2 separate regions of the Homo sapiens genome follow, and region 2 is linked to region 1. The links are contacts of gene promoters, found by promoter capture Hi-C in blood cells and fetal thymus (Javierre and others, 2016). All regions are on one chromosome and are shown on one strand. Each heading gives the region's core, a stretch centred on a gene start or on the middle of the fragment in contact. The rest is flanking DNA. Distances are from core to core; before and after follow the strand shown.

Region 1 (5,190 bases), core at 1,128-3,627:
GGGCACCCTGGGGGCCAGCAACTCTGGGGAAATGACAGGATTGATTCCTGTTTGGAGCAGGCGACTTGTCCTGGCTGTGGCGACAGCTGTCTCTGGGAGCTTGGTCGGGGGTCTGAGTGTGGGGAGGGCTCTGGGTGACCCCTCATCCTCTGCTCAGCGGGATATCTCCCACTGGGACAAGGTCAAGGTCCTGCTCAACCGGATCTGCCGGAGAAGCCACCACCACCCTGAGCCCCCTGCCCCTCCTGATGGCTCTGACCCCAGGTGAGCCCCGTGCCCAGCCCAGGTTAGGGCACGGAGAGGAGACTGATAAGCCAGGATGCTGAGATTGTCATGCCAGTTGTCATTATTGTCCCCGCAAAACTTGAGAGGCAGTCTGGGAGGGGCTGCTAGAAGAAACAGTAGTTAAAACACCCCATTTACAGATAAGGAGGCAGGGTTCTGGGTGGGGTTGGGGGTAGTTGCTTTTCCAAAGCCGCACGGTGAGTCAGTGACAGCTAGGACCAGAATGTGGGAAATCTGCCTACCCTAGCTCAGCAACCCCTCACCCTCAATGCTGACATTTAGGCCACCTTCCAGGTTCGTGGGGAGAGCAAGGTGGAGCACAAAGGATTTCACAGTGGGTGAAGGCCATCATGCTTCGGGGCTTGTATTGAATCGTTCTCCAGGAGGAAGAAATACCAAGTCATTTAACAGCCCCGGGCTGCGCCCACACCCAGCTACCCACCAGCAGATAAACCACGTTCTCTCAACTCTAGGGCCATTGTTAGTTTTATTTCCCCCTTCTAGCCTAATGTCTTCTTTTCATTCCACAGGATCGAGTCCAGGGACCTCCCTGAAAGGCCTCAGTGCCGCCCCCACCGGAAGACCTTTATGCCATCATTAGTGGTTAAGAAGCAACGAGCAAAAAACCTTTCTGTAGGCTGAGACCTCTCGGTGCACCTGGTGACCCTGGGTGGAGGGGACTTGCTGTGAAGTCTTCCTCGCCCTCTGCCCTCTTGCTGCTTCTCCACATTGCCAGGAAAAGCTGCTGACGCCTGCCCTCCTCTCTTGAGTCGAGGGCTGAATCTTTCTCCTCTAAGCAGTCTGGTCAGGAACCTTGGTTTCTTGAGAGGCCCCCAAGATGCCGCAGCTCCAGGGCTCTTCCTCCTCACCAGAAATCCCTGGGCTTCCACAATGTGAACTCACTCATTGTCAGGTGTCCGTGGAGTGTTTTTGGCATGGTGACCTGTCTGGGCCCAGCATGTTGCAGATGTGTATTTATGCGCAATGGTATGCATATCTCTGTGTGACTGTCAGTGTTGCAAGCTGGCTGGATCCAACCATCTCTTCTGAAATAATGCATCCAAAGGGTTGATATTCTGGGGGAGGTCACTGCAGAAGGATGGAACTGACCTTTATTCCCCAGTGGGCAGTTACTGAGCTTTCCTCCTCAGAGCCATGCTGGCAGCCCTGGGACAGAGAACGGTGTGGCTTTGGCTGCCTCTGCATGGAATCTTGCCCCGGACTCCTGAAGACTGCACAAGGAATGAGGAAGATCAGGGACAACCTGGGAACTGAATAACTTTCAAAGCCAGTGCTCAGCTTCTCTGCTCCGTACTAGCGTTTACAGGTCTTAATTCAAACCAGATGCCTGTACTAGTTTTTAGACCCCAAGTCAACCTTTCTGAGCCACAGCTTCCCGCTGGGAATAATGATGCCTGCCCTATCTACCTCACAGACTTGTTATGAGGATAAAGTGAGATTAAACTGCCTCAAAGTGCTTTGTAAACCTCAGGTGAATAGGAAAGGGGAAAGTAAGGCTGGAGTGATGATGGGGAGGTCGGAGGATAAGGGGGGGCTGGGATTGCTAATGGGGACTAAAATGGCCAGTCTCCTGGCAAGATTTTGAGCAGGTCATTTCATTGAGGCCTCTTAGATTTCATATTTGAGAATTAGGGCACTGATTCCTGACTGGCTAGGCATGGTGGTCACTGGCTTGAGTCAGACCAGGAATGTCTCTTAGAAATGGTCACTGATAGGCATCCTTCTCCTCCAGTCAGGAGGGGCTGGTTTCCTTATCTGTTGCAGTCTCGACTGCCAGAGGGAGGCGAGCGTGGTAGGCAGTCGGGGGTCCCTTGTGTTTGGGGGGCCCAGCTCCCGCTTCCTTTGAGCCCGGAACCAATGATCCGAAGCCTTCTTTCCTGATGGGATTCTTTAGCGAGGACACTACCGAGGCGCGACTTCCTGACGCGCATCCGATCCGGGAAGGCGCACTTCCGCTCCCCAGTTGCCGCGGGATGGCAAGCCGGCGTGGGGGAAGGGAGAGGTCGGCGGAGACGAGGGAGGGACCATATCCGGGAGAGCGGCAGCTTCCGACCAGTGGTCGCGCTTCCGGAGAGGCGCTTCCGGTGGCGGCGGCAGCAGCGGCTGTGGTGGTTCCGGGTGTCTTTGTCCCCCCGGTGTCGCTGCCCTGGCCCGCAGGTGGGTTGGGGGGCCCCCTGCCGCCCCTCTGCCCCTTCGCCCCTCCGCCCCTCCGCTGGCCGAGGGGCTGCGAGGGCCGGGCGGCGAAGATGCGTGGGGCGCGGAAGGGGCCGAGCCCCTCTTTGGACTGCAAGTCCCGTCTCCCTGGCAACGGCCTCGGCCTTGGGGGCGGGCGGGAGGAGGAGAAACCGCGCGCCTCAGTCCTCCCTTGGTGGCCTCGCCGCGGCTCTGCTGGGAGACCCGGCGCTGGCGGCTGCTGAGGCCGGAGCGGAGGGCCCGGGAGCGTGGGAGCAGGAGGGTGGCGCGCAGCCGGTTTCGCGTTTGGTCGGCCAGGGAGCTGCCTTCCCACCAGCCGGTCGAGGAAACAACGGGTCGGGCTTCCGGGGAGAGGGCCCACACAGTCTCCTCGCCGGCACCGGCCTCCTCCATTTTTCCGGGCCTTGCGTGGAGGGTTTTGGCGGATGTTTTTGAACGAAGGAATGTCATCGGGGCTCTCTCGAGCCCCTCACCCCGCCAGCTACTCTGGGGGTGGCGTGGCATAGTGAGAGGAGCGCTAAGTTGTTGGGAGGCCTGGGTGTGAGTAGCAGTTTTGTCACTACCTGGTTATGTGGCCCCGGGCAAGTCTCTTGATCTCTCTGAGCATCAGTTTCCTTGTCTGTAAAACAGCATGACAGTATCATGCACCACTAGGTTATTGTCAGGGCAAACTGGAACAATGTAATTTCTTGTTTCATTTCTTTCTTCTCTATATTCTCTCCATCCATTGCTTTCATTCATTCTTATTACCCACCTCCCTGTTTTCCGAAATATCCTTACTTAAGATTCTCCACTTTTCCGGGTATAGATGGAAATTTCCCTTATAAGCTGTTAATTTCTTTCTTTTTGGATTGAAGCCTTTTCCCCACGACTCTGAAAGAGGACAGCGTTCCCAATGTCCCAGTTTAAGCGCCAGCGGATCAACCCGCTTCCAGGGGGACGCAACTTCTCAGGTGATCACTGTTCTCCCTACCTGGCCTCATCCTGGGAAGTATGTGCTCTGGAGTTAGTTTGGGGTTTCCCTGGTGGAGAGCAATTTGCTGCTGATGTTCCTCTGGAAAGCAGGAGATGCCCACAGTGATTGCCAGTGAAGCTCTGTGGAGGAGCTGGCTGGAGCTGTAGCCTTTGGATTTACCACATCCTTTGGTTGACTCGTGCTTAAGGTGGTAGGGGCGGTTCCTGGAGATTGCTTCTCTTTCCCCATAGGCACAGCTTCAACATCTCTTCTGGGCCCTCCTCCTGGTTTGCTCACTCCTCCTGTGGCCACAGAACTGTCCCAGAATGCCAGGCACCTTCAGGTAGGTTCGGCATCCCTTGTAGTAAGTTTCAGCCCTTGGGACTGAATGCATGGAGGCCTGGTGCTCTTTTTCTCTTACATAATAGTGTTTATCATTCCTGATCCCTCTCCTGGTAGTGGGCTAGTATGGGGTTGCCCAGATAGCCTTCAGACTGGGGCATCTTCATTTCTCGCTCCAGGGAAATCTTTAGCTTACGTCTTGGAATTAATGAACTGGAAATCCCAGAAGAAGCTTGTGGGTCAAGAACCAGCTCAAACATGCCCCAACCCCTAATGATGGAGTATGCCCACCACACCTGTACTTCACTCTGTGCGAACTCTTGATGCAGTACGCTGAGCTGGGGCGTGGGTTGAGATGAGACCTTCATGGCAGAGTGTGATTTTGTCCAGTTTCCTCCCTTTTACTTTTCAGCTGTCTCCTTCTCTTACAGGGTGGGGAGAAACAGCGGGTCTTCACTGGTATTGTTACCAGCTTGCATGACTACTTTGGGGTTGTGGATGAAGAGGTCTTTTTTCAGCTAAGGTAGGCTTGAGGTTGGTCCCCTAACGGAAATGCTTATTGGATTCAGTTCTGTCACCATGCTGGTATTGCCCCCACCCGCCTCAAAGCCATTGCTTTGCTGTTTTTGTGCAAGGTGTGGGAAATCTTGATGGGAAAGGCCTCATAGGGGCAGTCAGGGTGGCCTGGCCAGGGTCCCTCTTCTGATGGGGCCTTCTGGCTTGTGTGCTGACAGTGTGGTGAAGGGCCGTCTGCCCCAGCTGGGTGAGAAGGTGCTGGTGAAGGCTGCATACAACCCAGGCCAGGCAGTGCCCTGGAATGCTGTCAAGGTGCAAACGCTCTCCAACCAGGTATTCATATCTCCTTAGCATGTGCATTGGAAAGGGAAGGGATGGAAGCCCCTGTGCCCTGACAGCTGGGCAAAACCCTGACTTTTGTCAGGGGGGTGGGACTGCATCTTTCCAAGGTAGTGAGTGCCTCAACCATGGGGTCCCCTGAATTTCCTGGCTCCTGTTCTGCAGCCCCTACTGAAGTCCCCAGCACCTCCTCTTCTGCATGTAGCAGCCCTGGGCCAGAAGCAAGGGATCCTGGGAGCTCAGCCTCAGTTGATCTTCCAGCCTCACCGGATTCCCCCACTCTTTCCTCAGAAGCGTGAGTACGAGTGGCACTGTTGTTGGGTGTGGCATTATGGGGTAGTTTAGATCAATGGACTTTCAGGTTGCTGCTCTTAGCATAGAGGTGGGTACTTCTATGTACTGGAAGAAAGGTGGGCAATCTGGATAGGTGTTTAGGGTTTTTTTTTTTTTTTTTTTTGATGGAGTCTCGCTCTGTTGCCCAGGCTGGAGTGCAATGACACGATCTCGGCTCATTGCAACCTCTGCCTCCTGGGTTCAAG
Region 2 (5,190 bases), core at 1,954-4,453, 190 kb before region 1:
GAGGGCACCTGGAGGCCCTTTCCTTTTGGAAAGCGAAGCTAGAACTTAGGCGTGAACTAGGAGAGGCAGCCCAGCATAGGCTGAAGAGCTGGGTTCAAATCTCAGCTCTGCTATCAGTAGGTTCCGTAACCCCAGGCACACCACTGACCTCACACTGCCTCTGTTTCTTCAGATGTGAAATGGGGAGAGCAATAGACCGGCCTCAGGATGATGTTGTGAGGGTGGAACGAGCGAGTCTGCTGCAGCACTGAGTGCCTGGTGCGGAAAGTGCTGTCTGATGTGGGGTGAAAAGATGCAGTGTAGCGAGCTCACTCTGGCTTAGTTGTGGTGCTCAGATTAAGGCTTTGGGTGCAGAGAAGTTTAAAAAACATCATCAGCCGGGTGCAGTGGCTCACACCTATATTCCCAGCACTTTGGGAGGCTGAGGCAGGTGGATCGTTTGAAGTCAGGAGTTCAAGACCAGCCTGGCCAACATGGTGAAACCCCGTCTATACTAAAAACACAAAAATTAGCCAGACGTGGTAGCGCACGCCTGTAATCCCAGCTATTCGGGAGGCACAAGAATCACTTGAACCCAGGAGATGGAGGCTGCAGTGAGCCGAGATTGCACCACTGCACTCCAGCCTGGGTGACGGGAGTGAGACTCCGTCTCAAAACAAACAAACAAACTCCCACATCATCAGAACCCACAGTTCTCAGTAAAAAGATTGTCCATAGGGAGTTTTGGGGCAAAGGCAATGCAAGTCAAACAATGTCTGGTTTTATATACCTTGATGGTACCTTTGCCTAATAAGTTCATGAGAAAACTTGCCACAAAAGAAGGAGCTGATGGTTCATCTAATTTGGTGTAATCCCCTCAGCAGACCCATTAATTACAATAAGCACAGGACGTCTCCCTGTGGGTGGTCTCGCAGGCCTGGACAGAGCCGCAGTTGAAGCAGAGATGACTGCATGCGCCTCTTACAACACTTGGTGTTTTCTGAAATGTCAGTTGGCTCCCTCCTAGTGGATCCTTAGGTTAACTCCATGGCATCGATAGAACAAGTAACGTTTTACCACGTTGGAATCTGACCTGCACAAGAGCGCATATCCCTGAGTCGAGAACCCAGCTTTTGGGATTTCTGAAGCTCAACCCCATGATTCTGTATTCACCATCCTTTGTGGCTTTTTGCAGAGAAGTGTTCGTTGCCTATTTTCACTTCACTTTTCCCCCAAGATGATTCGACTCCCCTGGAAAGTCAACATGAAAGTGTTGTTTCCCTGGAGGGTGGTGATTCAATTTGGCCTGTTTAAAACATAAAGGCAACAAACAGCCCAGAGTTCCTTGAAGTTGGGATCAACTTTTATTTTGGACCAATTCATGAGAGGGCTGAAGTTTATTCAAGGCCCGTTTCCCATCAGAAAATGGAGGAACAACCCGGTAAATATATATACTTCCTATGTACCCACAAAAAAATTTAAGAATAAAATAGGAGCAAGTCGTTAGATACTTTTTTTTGTTTGTTTTTGAGACAGTCTCACTCTGTCACCCAGACTGGAGTGCAGTGGTGCCATCTCGGCTCACTGCAATCTCTGCCTCCTGGGTTCAAGCCATTCTCCTGCCTCACACTCCCGAGTAGCTGGGATTACAGGTGTGCCACCAGGCCCAGCTAATTTTTGTATTTTTTTTTTTAGTAGAGTTGGGGTTTCGCCATGTTGGCCAGGCTGGTCTCAAAACTCCTGGCCTCAAGTGATCCACCCACCTCGGTCCTTTAAAGTGCATGAGCCACCGTGCCCGGCCAGGTCATTAGACACATTCACAAGAACCCACCATAAATCAGGAGCTTACCCTAGGACAGAATTCTCTTGATTTCTACTCCTGTCCTCTTCCCAGTGGATTCTCCCCTCCCTCTTTGATAAGTGACAGTTTCAGAAAGGACTCAAAACAAAACCCAAAAATTGACGCTCGCAATAACACAGTCCACTTTCTTGGTTCTGTGGTCACTGGGAGGTCTGCGGTTAGGAAAACGCTGCAGTTCTTATTACTTAACTGGGAAATGGGTTTCCCGTTTTAGAAAGTATAATTACACCATCTCCCTTTGTGTTTACAGGCAGGTCAGCCAGGAACACTAGATAAGATGAAAATAAATACAAGTGTCTGCTCCTTCAATATGAAATCTATTGGCAGAGAATGCCTTCATAGCAAAGCACCAAGATAAATCAAAAGTGGAAAACCATATCGGAGGTTTTTCTTTCTGGGATTAAAATTCTACAGATGATCAGTCTTTTGCATCAGCAAATAAGCTTGAGAAGAACCTGGCAGGTTTAGTGATGTCACATCAGGGAAACACCAAGGACTAGATTTTTGCTGGAAAGAGGATGGGTAGACGGCAGAGTTACTCCATTATGCCTCTCTCCTTTCCTAGAGTCAAGGAAGTAGTTAAGAGATAAGAGGGGGATCAGTAAAGATGCTTTATTTTCTTTAAAACTCATTTTCTTTTCCTGGGTCCACAGGCATTTGGTTTCAACCCTCTGGAAGATTATTATGTCTCCAAGTCTGCAGTGGTGTTTGGGGGCTTTTATCTTTTCTTTTTCACAGAGAAGATCTTGAAGATTCTTCTTAAGCAGAAAAATGAGGTGAGGCCCAATTGTTGCTGAAGAAAGCTCTTCTAGGGAAAACACCCATCTCAAACAATGTTGATGTATTGTGGTGGTGGTGGTGATGGTCTTAGCCCAATATCACAATTTCCGTGAAACTCTAATTTCTTGAGGAGACAATCCCATTTCACCTCCTGAGGATATTTGGCCAGAAGTGAGGCCAGACCAGAAACTAGATCTGGCCAGGGTGCCTTCTACTAAGCAGTAGTTTATCCCCTTTGTTTTGTTCTAAGATTATTTCCTTAATATATTTGTATCTTTACAGGATGGGGAGAAGAGCTTGATACCATGCATTCATTCTGTATGAAGTATGAGGCTGCAGAGAAACAGGACTATTATAGTACAGTTTCAAAAAGATATCTTTAGTGGCTGGCATGCAGTTATTCCCTAAATAGCTGCTGAATTGAGTGAGATTAGCCATTGCAAAAGAGGAGCTCTAAATATTTGAGCAGTGGCTGCCTTGGTGGAATAAGCATGTACCCCGAGGAGACAGCTTTGATATCTGTCTGACACCAGGTCCTTCGCACTTGGTGCAGATTTATATATATAGATATTAGAAACGGGGTCTCGCTTCGTTGCCCAGGCTGCTCTCAAACTTCTCAGCTCAAGCAGTCCTCCCACCTCGGCCTCCCACAGTGCTGGGATTACAGGTGTGAGCCACCGTGCCCGACCATGGCTTTATATAATAGCTTTTGCTATGTTTCTGGGCACGTGACCTGCTTGTGTCATCTTCGATGGTAAGGCTGAGGTCTTCCAGTGTGTGAAGCACTTCCTTGGAGCAGGTGCTCAATCAGGTTTGTGGTTTTGGTGAATGTCATGCTGATCCCTCCCTGTCACCCTTCCAGCATCATCATGGACACAGCCATTATGCCTCTGAGTCGCTTCCCTCCAAGAAGGACCAGGAGGAGGGGGTGATGGAGAAGCTGCAGAACGGGGACCTGGACCACATGATTCCTCAGCACTGCAGCAGTGAGCTGGACGGCAAGGCGCCCATGGTGGACGAGAAGGTCATTGTGGGCTCGCTCTCTGTGCAGGTCAGTGGGCCACCAGCTGCTTGGTGGAGCCTCTAAGAGGTTGACTCAGGCTTACCTTGAGGGCACATGGTCCAGCCTTTGACGCTGTGGGCCCTGGGGGTGTGCTTTCTCCTAGGACCTGCAGGCTTCCCAGAGTGCTTGCTACTGGCTGAAAGGTGTCCGCTACTCTGATATCGGCACTCTGGCCTGGATGATCACTCTGAGCGACGGCCTCCATAATTTCATCGATGGCCTGGCCATCGGTGCTTCCTTCACTGTGTCAGTTTTCCAAGGCATCAGCACCTCGGTGGCCATCCTCTGTGAGGAGTTCCCACATGAGCTAGGTAAGCGTGCGTCCCCCGTTCCACTGGTGCTCCCTTGGGTGGTGGTGTAGGCCCCCTTCCTGTGGCCGGTTCCTTGCTCCCATCTCCCTGTCTTCACAGTGCTTATTGTAACTGATTTAACACACTCCTAAAGCTTCATGGACCCTAATCACCTTTTTTTTGGAGACGGAGTCTCGCACTGTTGCCCAGGCCGGAGTGCAGTGATGTGATCTCGGCTCACTGCAACCTCCACCTCCTGGGTTCAAGCGATTCTCCTGCCTCAGTCTCCCAAGTAGCTGGGATTACAGACGCCTGCCACCACACTCGGCTAAATTTTTTTTTTTTTTTTGGATTTTTAGTAGAGACAGGGTTTCACTACGTTGGCCAGGCTGGTCTTGAACTCCTTACCTCGTGATCCGCCCGCCTCAGCCTCCCAAAGTGCTGGGATTACAGGCTTGAGCCACCGAACGTGGCCTAACCACCATTTCTTAACGATTAAATAGATAATTTAAAATGATGGGGTTTTTACAGGGGTGTTTGTTTCCTTTTAGCCCCATATGCAGTGGCTCAGTTCTCACCTATACAGTGGGGTTAATAAGAGCACCTCCTTTTAGAATAATAGTGAGGATTAAAGGAAAACAAAGGGTGAGAGGGACTTCCCATGTGCCAGGTGCTATTCTGAGCACTCAGTAAAGGCTCTCTTTTGTAGCCTGTTAATCTTCCAAAGGCTCAGGTGCCTGGCAGGTGCATGGCAGCTGGATGAACCAGGGGGTAGGAGGGACTTAGTTTGATCAGAGGGAGAGTGTAAAAAGCTAGTAATTACTCCAGAGGCTTTAGGGACGACGTAGGGTCAAGTTCTGGCTTTGCCATATATTGACTTGTGACTTCGGGCAAATCACTTCTCACAGTCTCGACACTTAACTTCTCGCAGTTTTGATTTTGTTTCCATGGTAGTTGTGAGGAAGGGGGTTCCTTCTGTTTCACTATGAATCCAGAGAGAAATGAGGAGGCCAGTGCCAGCTGGTCATCTATTTTTAAAATCCTGAGAAAGATTTTCAGCCTTTAGGCTGGGTATACGGCCAGTTTGGCAAATGGAGACGGGTCCTGAACAGGAAGTTCAAGGGCCTGTCTTGTCACTTCTGTCTTGAGTCTAGGGCTGTCTTGATTTTTTTCACCCACACTTTTAGCAGTCTGATGTCATCGGTGCCCTCTGTCTC

What was found. The method cuts DNA at HindIII sites, captures the fragments that hold promoters and counts their contacts. A CHiCAGO score of 5 or more calls a contact.
Region 2: a fragment that was not itself captured here is called in contact with the fragment with the promoter of CCAR2 in region 1 in 4 of 17 cell types (non-activated CD4 T cells, M0 macrophages, naive CD4 T cells and 1 more); the score reaches 7.4 in non-activated CD4 T cells.

What each region holds. Positions count from the first base shown.
Region 1 is chr8:22,602,380-22,607,569 of GRCh38, forward strand. It overlaps CCAR2 (cell cycle and apoptosis regulator 2), which reads left to right and starts at 2,378. Exons shown (of 21, transcript NM_001393997.1): 1 at 2,378-2,463; 2 at 3,357-3,452; 3 at 3,706-3,797; 4 at 4,228-4,319; 5 at 4,531-4,645; 6 at 4,817-4,946. The coding sequence starts at 3,395. C8orf58 (chromosome 8 open reading frame 58) reads left to right here. Exons shown (of 7, transcript NM_001013842.3): 6 at 158-264; 7 at 816-1,763. The coding sequence ends at 927. LOC107986876 (a long non-coding RNA gene) reads right to left here and starts at 2,621. Exons shown (of 1, transcript NR_160769.1): 1 at 754-2,621. RefSeq lists enhancers at 2,096-2,205, 2,212-2,712 and silencers at 2,376-2,675, 2,736-2,795. The HindIII fragment of the contact is 4,257 bases long and covers 1-4,026 here.
Region 2 is chr8:22,412,287-22,417,476 of GRCh38, forward strand. It overlaps SLC39A14 (solute carrier family 39 member 14), which reads left to right. Exons shown (of 9, transcript NM_001128431.4): 5 at 2,494-2,616; 6 at 3,483-3,671; 7 at 3,787-3,994. Among named protein-coding and RNA genes, the nearest start is that of PPP3CC, 26 kb to the right of the region's middle. The HindIII fragment of the contact is 1,844 bases long and covers 2,282-4,125 here.